2 separate regions of the Homo sapiens genome follow, and region 2 is linked to region 1. The links are contacts of gene promoters, found by promoter capture Hi-C in human tissues and cell types (Jung and others, 2019). All regions are on one chromosome and are shown on one strand. Each heading gives the region's core, a stretch centred on a gene start or on the middle of the fragment in contact. The rest is flanking DNA. Distances are from core to core; before and after follow the strand shown. Region 1 holds the start of FGL2 (fibrinogen like 2). Region 2 overlaps GSAP (gamma-secretase activating protein).

Region 1 (2,700 bases), core at 200-2,699:
CAACAGTGGTCCCAGTGACTCAGGTGAAAAGCCAAGGTTTGGAGAGTCAATACCACTGTTAGTTCGTGGGTGGAGTAGGCGATTAAGTCTGTGGAATTTCACATGTATTTATTAAAGTTAATTCAAGTAATTTGGATGGTGAGGATGGGTTCTACTTCTATCTGCTTGAATTCTAACTTCAGGTAAAAGAGAAAGAAATATGAATACCTTCCCTTAGTGGCATGCTAAAACTCTCCCCTTAAAATATTTTTTGTGCCACTAGGTCTCAAAGCAAAAATTTGTGCACACATATGAAACTGCTTTTATTCCATCTGTAAACTCTCCCATTTTCTCCAGATATTTGGGATTAAGAACTAGATTACTTGCTAAAATCTTTCAAAGACCTCTTTAGCCATGAGAAGCGGCAGTCAGTCAATCACAAGAAAAACTGATTTCCAACAAACAAGGCACAATTGTGAACATCGCCTTATCTTTATTGTTTTCAAACACCTCATTGAAGAGACAAGTTAAATGCACTAAAACATCAAGAAATTCTCTCTACTTCTGCTTGCAAGTAGGTCTGGCATTAACAAATAAGATCTTAAAATTGAAAGTGACTTCCAGTGGATACAGAACTAACTATGATTTTTGTAATTAGGTCATATTTATGTGGTCATATTTGAGAAGATATTTATTTTTTCCTGTGCACCTTGATAAATAAAAGACTTAATCTGTCATCTATTTAACTTACTGACTCAGGTTAATGTTTATAGATACTCTCTAGCTGTATAACATTTATGAACATATGATAAGAAAACATTATTATACATACCTGGACGTGACTGTATTTGTTCTTGGCTGGGACACTTTGAACATTTGCCATCCAAACTATTGACAACAAATGTTAGATTTGCCACTTTGCTGTCAACATAATTTTCTATGTTGTTCATATTTACAAGATTCAGCTTCTCCAGGCGACCATGAAGTACATTGATCTCCTCTTTGGCATTCTTTAGCTCAGAGGACAGCTTGTTAACCTCACTCTCTAATTCTCTAACTCTGTTATCACCAACCTCTCCCGGGGCTCCTGTACTGGGTAACAACAGTCCGTTTCTGCCTGGGTCTCCGTTGTCATCAGCCTGCAGCTTGCAGTCTTGGCAAGATTTCTTTAGACTATTTACGATTTCCTTGAGGTTTTGGACTTCTTTGAACACCTCCTCGATCCTGCTGAATTGCTTCGGGAGCTGAATAGTCAAGGGGGGCAGGCTTACCTGGTAGGGGCACTCCCCTGCCTCTTCGCATTTCCCTCTGCTTTCTAGTCTCACTGGGCAGACATCCTTTGCTCTTTCATCTTTAATTTCCTCTGTTTCATTGTTTGCCACAACCAAAAAACCGTAAGTGGCAAGAACAGCTGAGCTCAGCCAGTACCAGTTAGCCAGCTTCATCTTTACAGTGCTGCTCACCCCAGCAGGGAGTGCGCAGGGCTGGAGCTGCTTTAATAGCGGCAGCTGCCTGAGTCAGGCTTTCTGTGTTCCCAGGAAAGGGTGGGAGCGTTTGCATCACAAGTTTTAGAAACGCACAGGAAGAGGAGATAGCCCTCATCAAACGCAGTTTGCCAAAAACTGTAACTTACTCTCAATAGAAATAATATGCATTGAAATTATTATAGTCAAATGTACACAGCCAACAAGATTCACTTTCATAATGTATTTTATGAAGTATAAGAAAAGTCTTGCATTTCTAAAGTAATTTGGTATACTTACGCTTGAAGTAAATAATTATACGTAACTTCACTGGAAAAACAGTTTTTAAAGATAAAAAGTAAGAGCTAGTTATCCAAACTGTCTATAGAACAGAAACGTTACTAAAATGAAAATGGTCCTTTTTCCTTCTTAGAATGGGGCATTGGGGAGCCTGTATTTTCTTCATGTTGGACTTTCAGGTGAAATCTTAAGCACTTTTAGAAGTTTCTAAGTGTAACAAAGTACAGCTTTCTGACTATTGCAGTTGACTTTTGCTTCATCTACTTGAAAAAGAGAAGAAAACTAGTGGAGAAAAAAGTGCTACTTTCTATTCCTTTGTCCGTAGCATAGTGTATATTAATGTCTAAATGTCTAAGACCCATTTAAAAGGACATAATTGTCTTTCATCAAAACCAGTAGCTGCCTCCTTTGCCCTTCGACATTTTGGTAATTGTACTGTCATCTTCCACAGCTGCTCAAATGTGAATCTTTGAGCTATGCCAGTGTCTGTCCTGAACTTCTCTTGCCTACAGCATCTTTGCCCTTTCTTTCTGCAGGTAGCCCTGGCAGGCGGGCCTCTTGCTTTCTGTCTCCACGCTGGTTCTTCTACCTGCTCTCTGGGCCACTTGGTATATCAGCTTGTTCAAAACATGTAGCATTAATGATAATAGTTTTCTAACTTTCTCTTCAGAGGCTGAAGGCAGGAAAGAGGAACAGCTTCAGTTAGAGAAACCACCTCCTTTTAATTTGTTTTGCATATTGACATCTCATAAGATTTCTTGTTTAAAAAGGGTTTTTTTGCTTTAAAAATAATTTCAAAATGACTGACATGGGCAAAAATCTAAATGTTTTATTGTATTACTTAAAACACTCTGTAGCCTATCTCATATTTATGTCTTTAACCTGATTTCCTATGACTTTTCTGTATATCCCCTTAATTTTAGCCAAATCCTATTCACATTCTCAAAATGTTGGCAGA
Region 2 (2,700 bases), core at 86-2,585, 190 kb after region 1:
GAGAAGTGTGCTCTGTCCCCAGCCTCCCCACATTGATGACAGTGTAGACGGAGTAGCTTCCTGAGGGTAGGAGAATGCAGCTTGGGAGCTTCAGGCCAGGCCATATCTGGAATTGAGGAGCGACCACAGTGCTGTCAGGAGTGGCGGGGAAATGCGCAGCTGAAAGGACTGGCTGACAGGGGAGGACCCTGGGAAGAGAGAGACAACCCTCTCCCCTAACCCACTGGAATAGGGAGGCCCATAGGGTGGAGGCTGGTAATAGCTTGGGGGACAAAAAGGCAGATACTTTGAGTGGTGCAAATTGACTCTGGCTAGACCAAAAGAAATGATATTTTGACCCTGTAACAAAATGTGAAATTAGGCGAAAGGAAATTATGCTGTAGCACTGTGTGAACACACACAGTTCATTCAAATTATTTGCAGTAGTTATGTTCTGTAAAGTCACCACAAATGTCGTATACTGAATACTGAACCATTGTTTCTAGGGAAATACAAAGGGAGTTGATCATAATCCTGAAAGACACAATCCCAAATGCCATAATCCTAAATATTGAAATCCCAAAAGATCAAAATCCCAAAAATATAATTCTGGAAGAAAATAATTTTAAAAATTATTTAAAAGATGTATTGACATTTTTAAAAGAAGACTTATCTGAGAAGCAAAACACAAAAGAACACTTCATAGTCCACTTTATACAATAAAATAGGCAATAATAACATACACAGTTTTGAAAGTATAGACACTCGTGTATACTAACTATCCTGTGATCATGGCTTTTGGGACTGTAGACTTTTGACCTTTCAGGATTTCAACATTCAGGATTATGGTGTTCAGGATTGTCTTTTGGGATTATGATCCAAACCCAAACAAGGATAAATTCTTGGAAGCCTCTAGTCACAGCATGTTTGTCAACAGATCAGTATATAATTTTGTTTTGTGTGTTTCTATTTAAAGACACTCCTTAACCTCATGGCCAACAGCATAGTAACTCATGCCTGAATGAAGCTTATCTGAAACACATGTTTTCTCCCTAAGGCATCTGACAGCCTTCTTGCACTTAGGAACACTAGACGGTGCCTCAGCGCTATTCCTGGAAGCCGTTTAAACTGTGAAATCGCCAGGAAAAAGCACAAAAATTGAAAGATGGAACTAGGCCATGAAAACAACTGTCATTTTAGTATGAGAGCTAAAGCAAAAAAGGCAGGGCATCACCGTGTTCAACCTCAATTGCGAATGTGCATGTTGGGTGACAAATTCTTTCACCACTCAGCATGTATCTGCAAATAACTGACGAAGTACTATAAGTGTTTAATTTAGGGGTTACAAATAAATTTTAGGAGCAGCAGAATATGCAAATATGGAATCTGCAAATAATGAGGAATGACTGTATCTATGCCACCTACATTATACATGCAGTTTCTGCATCAACTCATGAAGTTGATAAATTCAGGGATTAAGCCATTTAACCATAGATACTTAATCTGTCAACCATGCAAATACATTATATTGACCATTTTAAAGCTTACCTTAAATGTGTTTTAATATTTGATATTTTATCATGAGAAAATATTACATTACTAAGAAACAAACAGAGTTGGTGGAGCTAGCTTCGAGTTCTTAATTTCCATGCTTGCAAACAAAGAGCGGATACTTCCAGCCATAGTAGTCTACAAGACTGTTCTGAGGATTAAATATGATAGAGTGAAAGTACTTTGTAAACCCCAATTCTTCTAGGCTGCATGCCTTTTGATTAATGAGATAAGTGATAAATGGCATGCTTACTTACCTGAACCCAAATATAGCTATCCACAGCCTTTAGAACCTTCACATTGTTAACAGGGTGGATTTCAACCAACAAAGTCAAGCACTTTGATCCTACAGAGAAAAGAAGGCTTTTAGTAACGAAGATTGTAATATCACACATTATTTTTTCCAAAGCAAGGAGTAAGAACAATTTCCGGTAAATCCTACTACAGTGACTATAAACTAATAAAACAATTCTACCACCATCCTAGAGTCCTGTGAGGAGACTGAAACTGTAAATCTGTTCCCAGTTCTACTCTCTAGGATGTGTAGCGGCTCCAGGACCCCAAAAGAGCAATCAGCCCAGCAAAGGACCTGCCTTCCACACCCTCAGGAGCCCTGAAGAAGCTGCATTTTATTATGAAAACCACAGGATACTCAAGAAATGCAAATGTGAAAAGGGAAGTCTTTGAACAGCCCTGGAAACAACAGTAGATACAAGGGAGACAAATTTCAGATTATAAGAATTCTGCATTTACAGAAAAGCATCACATTTAAAACACAAGTGGCTTCTGAATTCAAAGATCACTGTATATTACTTTGCACTCTCACCAGCAACATATAAGAGGGCCTAACGGGTTTCTAATGGATATCATTTTTCCCAATTATCACAATTCTATGATTTGCAAAAGCAGACATGTCTGAACTTTCTGAAAATATAAATATGCTAACTATTGTATTAGCTATTCTACCAGGGGGAAAAAAAGGTGATTTTCTTAAAGTTTGACTTTAAAGTTTGACTTTGACATTTCTACAAATTCAACAGAGACACAGAAAAGATCTCAAGGGAGAAATCAATGTGCACGGAGTGAAGAAGTTGTTTGTACTCACTCCATGCCATTTTTAGCATAGCTCCACAAGCCCTCTAGGCTTTTAAGTCTAAACAAACACAGTGC

The links. The method cuts DNA at HindIII sites, captures the fragments that hold promoters and counts their contacts. A contact is called where the count stands out against the background at its distance.
Region 2: a fragment that was not itself captured here is called in contact with the fragment with the promoter of FGL2 in region 1 in 2 of the 25 tissues and cell types used here (hippocampus and thymus).

Annotation. Positions count from the first base shown.
Region 1 is chr7:77,198,370-77,201,069 of GRCh38, forward strand. It overlaps FGL2 (fibrinogen like 2), which reads right to left and starts at 1,450. Exons shown (of 2, transcript NM_006682.3): 1 at 812-1,450. The coding sequence starts at 1,424. All of the region lies in intron 2 of CCDC146 (coiled-coil domain containing 146), which reads left to right. RefSeq lists a silencer at 1,041-1,150. The HindIII fragment of the contact is 7,307 bases long and covers 1-2,700 here.
Region 2 is chr7:77,385,573-77,388,272 of GRCh38, forward strand. GSAP (gamma-secretase activating protein) reads right to left here. Exons shown (of 31, transcript NM_017439.4): 6 at 1,788-1,876. Among named protein-coding and RNA genes, the nearest start is that of GSAP, 29 kb to the right of the region's middle. The HindIII fragment of the contact is 4,778 bases long and covers 1-2,700 here.